2 separate regions of the Homo sapiens genome follow, and region 2 is linked to region 1. The links are contacts of gene promoters, found by promoter capture Hi-C in human tissues and cell types (Jung and others, 2019). All regions are on one chromosome and are shown on one strand. The core of a region is centred on a gene start or on the middle of the fragment in contact, and the rest is flanking DNA. Distances in the headings are between cores, read along the strand shown.

The links. Contacts are between HindIII fragments. The study calls those that stand out against the background at their distance.
Region 2: a fragment that was not itself captured here is called in contact with the fragment with the promoter of CALCOCO1 in region 1 in 1 of the 25 tissues and cell types used here (hippocampus).

Annotation. Positions count from the first base shown.
Region 1 is chr12:53,726,057-53,731,636 of GRCh38, forward strand. CALCOCO1 (calcium binding and coiled-coil domain 1) reads right to left here and starts at 1,396. Exons shown (of 15, transcript NM_020898.3): 1 at 1,348-1,396. LOC105369774 (a long non-coding RNA gene) reads left to right here and starts at 523. Exons shown (of 3, transcript XR_944973.3): 1 at 523-593; 2 at 3,880-4,026; 3 at 4,985-5,171. RefSeq lists enhancers at 1-171, 1,489-1,548. The HindIII fragment of the contact is 5,999 bases long and covers 1-4,175 here.
Region 2 is chr12:54,324,591-54,330,688 of GRCh38, forward strand. It overlaps COPZ1 (coat protein complex I subunit zeta 1), which reads left to right and starts at 541. Exons shown (of 9, transcript NM_016057.3): 1 at 541-591. The coding sequence starts at 574. RefSeq lists enhancers at 4,601-5,291, 5,292-5,981. The HindIII fragment of the contact is 4,502 bases long and covers 554-5,055 here.

The DNA.
Region 1 (5,580 bases), core at 146-2,645:
AGATGGAATGTGGGGGCCTGGAGCCAGGAAAGCCCCACCCCAGGGCAGGGAACAGACTAGAAAGTGGGAAGTAAGGGGCCCCAAGAAGTGGAAATGTATATTTAACGTTGAGGAAAGGGGAGATAGTTCAAAAAGAACCTAACATTCTTCTCTCCAGACTGTGCCTGCAGCAGGACTAGAAACCTACTGGTTTCACTTTAGTATTTCTCTCCTCATTTTCTCTCTGCTCCCCTCAGCCTCCATCCTTCCATCTGTTTGTATTGGTAGCTGGAGACACACTACAGGATGGGGTTGAGAGGAAGGGGTGTTCCAAGTTAGCTGGGGAGAGTTAATTGGAAAATATGAGGGTGGGGTGAGGACAGATAACAATAATAACGATCAAAAGAACTCCTCAGTCCAGGGCTGTGAGATGGCCCTCTTATTCATCACTCCTTTCCAGCCCACTAATCTATTTCCTGTGTCACTCACAGCTGACATGTCCAACCAGCCATTGTCACTAGTCATATGCACGCCCCCAAACATCACAAACCCACACCAGGCTGAAGTCCAGGGGACAGGAACTTTAAAAGAAAACAGAAACTCAGTGGATAAAGGTGAGCCAGCAACACAAAAAGGAGCAACTTCTGTCCCCCAAATAGGTAGAACAAAAAGTTTTTTTTAATGTTCATCTCCCTGAAAAATTCCTGGTTGAAACTAATCCATGTTTTCTCCAAATGCAATTCTTCCAGCTTTCTAAGGGTGGGGGTAAATTGTCCCCAAAGATATACCTGGAGAACCCTAAAATACACCCCACAAAGAAAATCCGTAACAGCTGTAAACGTTCTTCATGTCCGAAAGAAAGTTTTGGGCACCTAAGATGTAGGTGTGTAGCCTGATTCAGATGTTCACATGATGGGGCGGAGAGCGGGTGTCCCATCCCCTACTCTGTAGGGCTCTAGAGTTCCTTGACATTCTACACCTTGGAAGGTCCCCCTTCCTCCCCAGGGATTCAGCGTCGTAAAGGCCTTTGGATTTGCGTAGGGGAGAGAGGGAAGACGTGTAGGGGACACGTCTTGCCTGGGAGCGAATAAGCAGATTTCAGCTCCCTTGAAGGGATCAGCTTTATAGAGACGCATTGAGAAGAAGGAGAGGACGACGAGGGGGCGCCCCCCACCCCCAATCAGAGTCCCCTTGAAACCAAGAACTCCCCAAACAGCGGGGGTGGCTTCTCCAGTACGGAAAGGGTTACAACCCAAACGCTCCTGTATTCCCCTTCGACAGTTCCCTTACGTTATCCTTCCCCAAACTGGAAAGTGGGGTGACCCTCCCCTCCCATAAGATCGCCCCCAATTAGGCCAAGTTTCTTACCCAACAGACGGATCAGCTGTTCCCCTCACCTTTCACCAACAACAAAAACAGCACTCCGACTTCTGGAGGGGAGGGAGAAGAGTGGGCGCGAGGGCTTCTGGGGTTTGTGGTTCTTCTGCGCCCTTTTGCCGCTGCGTGCTCGGATCTAGGACTATACATCCCAGAAGGCTGCGCGCAAGGAGGGCGGGGAAGAGGGCGTCCGTGACGGCGGCCTCACCGCGGCATCCTGGGAGGCGTAGTTCTCACTCCTATGACAGAAAACGAGGGTGTGGCCAGCAAAGGACTTCAAGGCCCATGATCCCTTAGGAGGGGGCCGGCTGCATTAGGGGTGGCTGCTGGTTTGTAACGTGCGTTGTTGGGGGCTGGGGAGGATTTACGGCTCTAAAGCCTTCCATATAACGCTTTAACGGTGGGCAGAGCGGTTTCTGTTGCGTCCCGTCCTGTACTTTTCGCACCCACCTGTGAGATAGGCGTTAAGCGTTATGCACGCTTTATAGATGTAGAAAGTGAAGTACGGTTAAGGAGGCGGTGTGAAGTGTCAAAGCTATGAAATGTAGAACTGCATTAGCCTTGGCTAATTCCACGTCATATATTCTTGCCACTACACCACAGCTACCCACCATTTTGGGGATGGGAAACTGATAGCTGGGGTATAGCAGTTTCTTCTTTACTTCAATCTCAGGGACAGACCTTGTAAGAATGATGTCTTCTGCACAGCTGACCATTTTTTTCCAACTTGAGGATTTCAGTGCTAAGGGGCCTGACCATATCCACATCTGGACTGGGCTCCCCCAGAGTGGCTTCTGGGTCTAGGAAGAGGATACAATTGACTGAGGTGGTGGTAGGAGCGGTGGAATGAGAAGAATGAAATTGAAAAGGGAGCTTGGCATAATTCAGGACCTGTCACAATTCACAAACAAGCCACTTATGGGGCCTGTTTGCCCAAGCCTTTTAAGTGGCTTAAATTAATTAGGATAACAATACATGTTGACGTTCCGGTTTTTATTTAGGAGAGGTGAAAGATTGACACGTCTCCCACACCCCAAGTCACGTTATAGACTTGGGCATCCTGTCCCCCCTCTCGCTATTCTCCATCCCTGTAGTCGGAGGCATTCAGAATTACCTCTTTCTCTGGCTCTGCATTAAAGGATTACAGTCTTAAGGATTGATTTCCTCTTCCTAGGTGCCTGCTTTAATTCTCTACTGCACTAAGTTATGGAGCTTCTGCCTTTTCCAAGTTTTTTGGTAGTGTTTTGCTTTTATGACTGAATGCGGTGTCTGCCCTCAGTGTCTTTCATCTGAAGATCTCCAGGCACTTAAAAATTAGTTACTGGGCTGCACAAACATTAAGGTGATGTGTCTGTGTCATTAGTCAGGATTTATGAGTTAGGGAACCAGTTTCTGGATGAGGAGGTAGCTCAAGGTCTGGAGTGGGTTAAGAGTGAGGTCTGTTCAAGGACCCAAGTCTCAAGAGTTCTTGGCTCTTGTCTTCCGCCCAAAATAAAGGTCTACGAGAAAACAGTCTCGGAGCTAAAAATGGTAACAACTTCCATTTCTTGGGTGCTTATGATCTGTTCAAACTATGCTAAGAATTTTCCCATTTAATACAACAGGCTTATGTAATACGCCTTGTTATTATCCCCATTTTACACATGATGAGATTGAGGCACAATTAATGACTTGCCTGGAGTCATCCAGCTAGTGAGTGGCAGAATCAAGATTTAAGCACAAGCAGTCACCATACTCCCAGTCCAGAAACTCTGGCATGTGATACTAACTCCCATTGTTCTAAGGAACAGTGCTGGTTCATTAACAGGAGACAAATGTTCACTGAGCATTTATGTGCTCAGTGCAAGGCACAAAGTAATGTGAAACAGATTCATTCAACAAATATGTGGCAGGTACTATGCTAGGTATTCAGTTACTTTTATTGAAAGAATGAATAGTAAATATTCATTATTTTAAAATAATATATGTAATTCATTATTTTAAAATAATAAATGTAATTCATTATTTTAATTATAGTCATTACTTTCAAATATTCAAGTATTTGAAGGATAGATTAAATTTGGATAGTTTGGCAAGATGGGGACTGGGGAGGGTAAGCTTCTTCTAGGCCAAAGCAAAGATTTGGAGGTGGGAATGGATAATGAGCCTAGAGTCACATAATAGCACATCAATTTCAACCTTTATTTATGTATTTAGGCAAACTCAGATTATTGGTAATGTCTGCCTGAAATGTTGTGTTGAGGATTCTGAGGAAAGAGTGCTGGGTAGTAATGTCTGCCATGTACTCCAGATGGAAAATGGCAGTTGTAGTGGATGGACTAATTGTTTGAAATTATTTCCTCTCTCATTCCTGCCCACTGCCATGTGACTTGCAGTATCTCCTGTAGAAGGAATAGATGTCTCATGTCATTGACTTTGGGCTTTGTCATGTTTCATAATTTGGCTGATGGGATGTGAACAGATGTGACTCATGCCATGTTTGAACACATGAGTTTCCACTTTCTTGTTCTTCTCTGCCACTAGAATGGGAATAATCCACATGAGAGTTGCTCCTTCTGCCTGGGCCTGGGAATGAGAAGACCTGTGGAGCTGAGCTACTGCTTACCCACAACCTGCATATACATAAATCAGAAGCCAGCACTGGTTGTTGTGAGTCGCTTAGATTTTGGGGTAGGTTGTGATTGCAGCAAAGCTGAATAAAAGCTACAGTTGGAGGCCAGGCGTGGTAGCTTGCTCCTGTAATCCCAGCACTTTGGGAGGCCAAGGTGGGCGGATCACTTGAGGTCAGGAGTTCAAGACCAGCCTGGCCAACTGGTGAAACCCCATCTCTACCAAAAATACAAAAATTAGCCAGGTATGGTGGCGCGTGCCTGTAATCCCGGCTACTTGGGAGGCTGAGGCAGGAGAATCGCTTGAACCCAGGAGGCAGAGGTTGCAGTGAGCCAGAATGGTACCACTGTTCTCCAGCCTGGGCAACAGAGTGACACTCTGTCTCAAAAAACAAAACAAACAACAACAACAACAACAACAACAACAAAAAGAAGCTACAGTTGGATAATTGGATAATGGAAGATAAAATTGGAAAGACAGACTTAAGCCAGAGTATAGAGAGTTTTGAATGTCAAGTGAGCCAGAGCCTATGTGTTTATCAGAACCTGTTTCTTTCTTTTTCTTGGACACACAGCTGTACCACATTTTTTTATTTTTTTATTTTTATTTTTTATTTTTTTATTTTTTTGAGACGGAGTCTTGCTCTGTCGCCCAGGCTGGAGTGCAGTGGCGCCATCTCAGCTCACTGCAAGCTCCGCCTCCCAGGTTCATGCCGTTCTCCTGCCTCAGCCTCCCAAGTAGCTGAGACTACAGGTGCCCGTCACCACACCTGGCTAATTTTTTTGTATTTTTGGTAGAGACGGGGTTTCACCGTGTTAGCCAGGATGGTCTCGATCTCCTGACCTCGTGATCCGCCCGCTTCGGCCTCCCAAAGTGCTGGGATTACAGGCAAGAGTCACCGCGCCCGGCCTAGCTATACCACATTTTTAAGCTTCTCCTTTAATTAATGTGTTCCATTTTCAAGTCTGGCCCATAAAACCCTCCAAAAAAGTTCCTTCCTATTTTTTTTCCTGTCTAGCTTGATGAAGATGACCTTAGGCACAGTGACCCTGAAGGCCACATGTTAAAGACAGTGGAGCCACAGGATGGAAGGAAGCTGGTTCCCTGAATCATCACGTGGCAGAGAGCGGACCACTAATCAGGATCATGTGTTTCAGATTTCACTTGACCAATAAATCAATTTCAATTTTGTTACACTGCTAAAATGGGTTTATTTTTTATAGTAGCTACTGTTTTCCTCATCAATACATCATGTACAAAGGTTTGGACTTCACTCCCATCAGGAATGGGAAGTTAGTCACTGAAGATTTTTTGAAAAAGGGGAATAATACTGTGAAGACAGGTGGAAGTTACAGTTATTGGGATCAAAGAATATTTCTGAGTGAGAGTGGGAGATTTGGGGACTGTTGTTTTTTTTTTAAGAATATAGTTTAACTCGTCTGGGGAAGGGAGATGACTGCCATGATTGTCGAAGGGCTCCGTAGAACTTGGGAAGGAGCTGCTGAAAAGTGAATCCATTTCCCTGAAATGTTGTCTCTTTTCTCTTTTGCAAAAGTCCTAATTCTGGTATTGCCTCATGTAGTTCGGTGCCCACCACATAATAAATGTTTAATG
Region 2 (6,098 bases), core at 1,555-4,054, 600 kb after region 1:
TTTATGTAGTTAACATGTTGGGCCTTTCTTGGCTCTACTCTATGGTTGTGCAGACTTTCTGTGAGGATGCTGAAGTGACCTGAGCGAGCATGAGGGAAGGGCTAGCCACAGAGATCATGGACCTAATGCGGGCGCTGAAAATAGGGATTAGGGCAGGATTCCGGTTAGAAAGCGCCAGTGTTAAAGGCTAAGGAGACACAGCGCCCCCTAAAGAGGGTGCGGTTTAAAAATCGCTAAATCAGTCCGACAATATCACGTGTCCTCGGCCCTACCAATTGAAAATTAACAATCGCTTCTTCTGTTCCCCATGGAAACAACCCCGCCCCACTAACCCTCCCGCCCCAATGAGTCGTGAGGTTTTGGCGTTTTATTGAGTATTCAAGCTGACAATCAAACACCTGAGCCTTCTGGTTGGACACTTTGCTTCCGGTAAGCAAGCTAGTACAATAATTGGCCAATAAAGCAAGCCTTACCCAATGATCCTTATCCTAGGCGGGGCCTAATGGGAACGTATGGCCAATCAGCGGCGGCGTTTCTTTTGCGGCTCCACGTCGGCACCAGCTGCGGGGCAAGATGGAGGCGCTGATTTTGGTAGGAGCTGGAGGGGCAGCAGAGATGCTGTGGTGTCCACAGGGGCCGGGAGTCAGGGTTCAGCCCGAGTGGGAGACGGGGAAAGAGAGTTCCGGGTAATTCTTGGGGACTGAGCGTTCTGCTGACCTTTGGAATAAGTGTGTGGCCTAGTGTAGGAGCTAAAGCCTTGGTTTAGAGTAGGAAGCCCTGCCGGGGAGAGGGCATAGAGTCGGTGGAAAGTTGAAGGCAGCACATGGACTCCTTAGGATACACAGACCTGTAGGCGTACTGGATTAGGACCCTTCAGGTTGCCCCTTATTTTTAGCATTGTGGATGATACCCTGATTTTAATTTACCAAACCACCAAACTCGCCCCATATTGTAAGAAAAGAATACAGATGTTTTGTCGTTACAGACTCCTCCTGATGGTTTCCCAAGTTTGACTCTCCATTGCCGATTCCCTGCCACATTCCTTCAGGAAACTGTTTTGTCTTCGGTTTCCTGTTAATCCCTATTATATAGGTTTGTCAAATAATCAGTATTCCATCAAAGTTCTGGGATACCTGATAAAGTTAGCATGGATTGTGGAATATTTTTTCTAGACTCCTTATTCTGTTCTCCTTTTCTCTACCCATTTAGACCTTAGGAATTCTTTTTTTTTTTTTTTTTTTTTGAGACCGAGCCTTGCTCTGTCACCCAGGCTGGAGTGCGCACGTGGCGCGATCTTGGCTCACTGCAATCTCCACCTCCCGGGTTCAAGCTATTCTCTTGCCTCAGCCTCCCGCGTAGTTGGGACTATAGGCGCGTGCCACCACGCCCGGCTATTTTTTTTGTATTTTTAGTAGAGACGTGGTTTCACCATGTTGGCCAGGCTGGTTTCGAACTCCTGACCTCAAGTGATCCGCCCGCCTCGGCCTCCCAAAGTGCTAGGATTACAGGCTTGAACCACCGCGCCTGGCCAGGAATTATTATTATTATTATTATTATTATTATTTTTGAGACGGAGTCTCACTCTGTCGCCCAGGCTGGAGTGCAGTGGTACGATCTCGGCTCACTGCAAGCTCCGCCTCCCGGGTTCACGCCATTCTTCTGCCTCAGCCTCCGGAGTGGCTGGGACTACAGGCGCTCGCCACCACTCCCGGCTAATTTTTTGTATTTTTTAGTAGAGACGGAGTTTCACCGTGTTAGCCAGGATGGTCTCGATCTCCTGACCTCGTAATCCACCCGCCTCGGCCTCCCAAAGTGCTGGGATTACAGGCGTGAGCCACTGCGCCGGGCCAGGAATTCTTATTGTATGATCTAGGATGCTAATTTCTCCCTCTCTGGTTACATGAGAATTGTGGTCGCTAAAGGGCTGTATTAGCCCTCTTGTCCATATGATGCTTTATGCTTGTTCTAACAAATAAAATACCTGTTACCCCTTTTTAGAACTGGACCAGAGAATTTCTCTCAAAAGTGCCCTATTTTGCGATTTGGAGGGGTGTGTGTGTGTGTGTGTGTGTGTGTGTGTGTGTGTGTGTAGGTAGGTAGGTAGTATAGTGTAGGAATTTAACTCCCAGCCTTCTTCCTTAATTGGCTTGAACTCTAGGCCTCTTTCCAAAGAAGCTTGTCTTTTATTTTCCTTCAGATCTCCTAAGCATACACATTCAGATCCTCATCAGATAAAAGAATAACAGGTTTTAATTCCTCTCTTTCAGTTAAAGACAGTTAATTCCTTATGTCGGTTGGTCAAATATAGGTAAAAAGCTTAAAATCTGAGTAGTTTTAAATATTTTCTGTACCAAGCAGTTAACAAGTATTCTTTTTTTTTTTTTTTTTTTTTTTTTTTTTTTTTTTTTGAGATAGAGTCTGGCTGTGTTGCCCAGGCTGGGGTGCAGTGGTGCAATCTTGGCTCACTGCAACCTCCGCCTCCCAGAATCAAGCAATTCTCATGCCTCAGCTTCCTGAGTAGCTGGGGTTACAGGCACGCGCCACCATGCCCAGCTAATTTTTGTATTTTTAGTAGAAACAGGGTTTCTCCATGTTTGCCAGGCTGGTCTAGTCTTGAACTCCTGACCTCAAGTGATCTGCCTGCCTTGGCCTCCCAAAGTGCTGGGATTACAGGTGTGAGTCACTGCACCCCGGCCAGTTAGCAAGTTTTTTTTTTTTTTTTTGGAAACAGAGTCTCGCTGTGTCACCCAGGCTGGAGTGCAGTGGTGTGATCTCACCTCACTGCAACCTCTGCCTCCTGGGTTGAAGCAATTTCTCCTGCCTCAGCCTCACGAGTAGCTGGGACTACAGGCACGTGCTGCCACACCTGGCTAACTTTTTTGTATTTTAGTAGAGACGGTTTCACTGTGTTGCCCAGGCTGGTCTTGAACTCTTGAGCTCAGGCAATCCACCTGCCTCAGCCTCCCAAAGTGCTAGGATTATAGGAGTGAGCCACCGTGCCCGGCAGCAAGTATTCTTAATCAAGAGGTTGAGTGCAGTGGCTCATGCCTGTAATCCCAGCACTGTAAGAGGCTGAGGCAGGAGGATCGCTTGAGCCTGGGAGTTTGAGGCTGCAGTGAGCTATGATTGTGCCACTGCACTCCAGCATGGGTGACAAAGCCAGACCCTGTCTCTAAAAAAATAAGAATAAAAAACCTCCCCCTAAACCCAATTAGCAGACTAGGATAGATTCTAGGGAATTGGTTTTTTTGGAAGTTTTTAGACTTACCTATATATGTTTAGAAGGGAGCCTGCTTAAAGGTAAAGGAATGAGGAAGATAATAATTGGGGAGCCCTTTTAACAATGGGCCTGTGTGTAGTGGGTAAGCTGGGGGAGTTATATGTGAAAGTATCTCTGTCGGGCGCAGTGCAGTGGCTCATGCCTGTAATCCTAGCACTTTGGGAGGCTGAGGTGGGCGGATCACTTGAGGTCAGGAGTTCGAAACCAGCCTGGCCAACATGGTGAAACCATGTCTCTACTAAAAATACAAAAAAAAATAGCTGGGCGTGGTGGCACGAGCCTATAGTCCCAACTACTCAGGAGGCTGAGGCAGGAGAATCACTTGAGCCAGGGAGGCAGAGGTTGCAGTGAGCCGAGATCGCGCCACTGCACTCCAGCCCAGGCGACAGTGTTAGACTCCATCTCAAAAAAAAAAAAAAGGCCGGGCACGGTGGCTCACGCCTGTAAATCCAGCACTTTGGGAGGCCGAGGTGGGCGGATCACGAGGTCAGGAGTTGGAGACCAGCCTGACCAACATGGTGAAACCCGGTCTCTGCTAAAAATACAAAACTTAGCTGGGCGTGGCCACGCCTGTAATCCCAGCTACTCAGGAAGCTGAGGCAAGAGAATCACTTGAACCTGGGAGGCAGAGGTCGCGGTGAGCCGAGATGCGCCACTGCACTCCAGCCTGGGTGACAGAGCAAGGCTCTGTCTCAGAAAAGTTAAAGAAAAAGAAAGTCTCTCTGTCACATTTCTCTTCCCTTAGTTCTCTGTCTCTGCTTCTTCAGTGAAGTCTGTTTCAGCCTGCTTCTTCCTTATTCTTTTGCTTTAATCTATGCCTAATAGGCTGCATTCACAGATCCCTGCTAACTTGATCAGGTAACCCTGGACTTTGCTTTTAAAACCACACTGGTTCTTTGTTATGGGAAACCTATGTAATGCGGTTAGGGACAATCTGATCAAAGCATATTCTTCTGTCCTTAACTCTACAAGGTACATACATAGCTGCAGGATGTCGAGAAAAAGGGACAGGTAAGCTACAGGGGGTCAAGAAGAACTGTTGATCAAAGTTTGCATTGATTGTGGAATTTCTAAATAACAGTAAGTTCCCTTCTTTTAGGTACTTTACAGTGGGTCACATGGTCACATTTCTTTCTTGAATTAAGTAATCCAGCTCTAGCTTTCAAGCAGATTTGTCTAATCTCTCTCAGGTCTCCTTAGGCTCTAAGGAAAGAGACCCTTTCATCTCTTTTAGTTCCCAATGCTTAATAATAGTGATCTCAGCCTGCATCTTTGGACTTGGCTTCTTCTCTCTTGCTGTATCTGCTGGTTCTCGCTTTTTGAGTTGTGAATGAAGAGGATCTCTGCAGATCACCATTCTCCATTAATAACCTGTGGAATCTTAAAGATAAGGATTTCCCCTTCCTCCTTCCTGCTTTACTTTTTTTCTTTAAAGCTGAATTACTCGGGCCGGGCTCGGTGGCTCACACCTGTAATCCTGAGGTGAGTGGATCACCTGAGGTCAGGAGTTCAAGACCAGCCTGACCAACATGGTGAAACCCGTCTCTGCTAAAAATACAAAAATTAGCTGGGCGTGGTGGCATGCGCTTGTAATCCCCAGCTACACGGGAGACTGAGGCAGGAGAATCGCTTGAACCTGGGAGGCGGAGGTTGCAGTGAGCCGAGGGCCATTGCACTCCAGCCTGGGCAAAAAGTGAAACTCTGTCTTAAAAAACAAACAAAACTGAATTCTGTATCGGTTTAGATCTTTAAATCTTTGTTCATAGGTTTTATTTTTCCTAATCCTCTCTGGATTCACTTTCAGAGTGCTTCTCCAGTGCTTTACAGACTAGACTTCTAATTCTGTACTTTGTCTTACCTTAATATTTTAAAACCATAACCAAATCCTAAATTCTAAGCCTCATTAAAAAATCAGGCCATCCAAAGTGCACAAGGATATGAGTATGTATGGAGGAGGAAACTATGCAGAATATGTCAATGACTTTAAAGGTTGATGTTGCTCCTTGGCCTTTGCTTCCTGAATCATCTTAATGGGGCTTTTGTTAAATTCCTTTGGCCCTAACAGTAGAGGTACTTGGCCTAAATGCCCCCCTCCCCCTGCTCTGGGCAAAGGTATCAATTACATTAAGCCCCTAAAGCACTCCCATCTCGTTCCTGGCAGTCCCCTGTGCCCCTCTCCCAGCTGCGTCCTTGCTGGTGCCTGGCCCCCTCCATTTTGTTAGGAGAAGCAATCTCCTCATTCCTGCGCTGTGGAGATATATTTCTCAGCTAGGGCGCGAGCAGTGCCAGCACTGCCCCCGGTGAGGTCCCTGGCAGCAATAAAAATTTTTATTGTGATTATGTTGGTGTCGGGGTGTCCATCTGGGTTATTGCACACCTAGTTTAATTGATTGAAGTTTAATTTATTGACACTTCAAATTAAATGATCAGAATAAACTGTGCTGTTACTCTGGCCAGCTTGTTTTAATGGTTGATTGCTGGAAGCAGACCTCGGCTTGAACTAAAACCCCCAAAGAGCAATTGACGCTGCTTCTAACTCTCCCCATGTCTTGCCCTCCAAGAAGACCTTGTTATAGATTTCCGACGTATTTATATATATTTTTTCCCTCTTCTTCACAGTGGTGGGAAAGAGTTGGTCCCTGGCAAGGTATAAATTATATCAAAGATCTAGGGGAGCTGTCACATGGTCAGAAGAGGAGGAGGGGGCCTCCATGTGAGGAAAACCAGACCCTTGAGAAGCCAGGTCTGCCTTGGGAGGCAGAGGATGAGTGCAATTATCCAGGTATTTGACGGAGCCTAGTGGCAGGTTTAGGGTCTT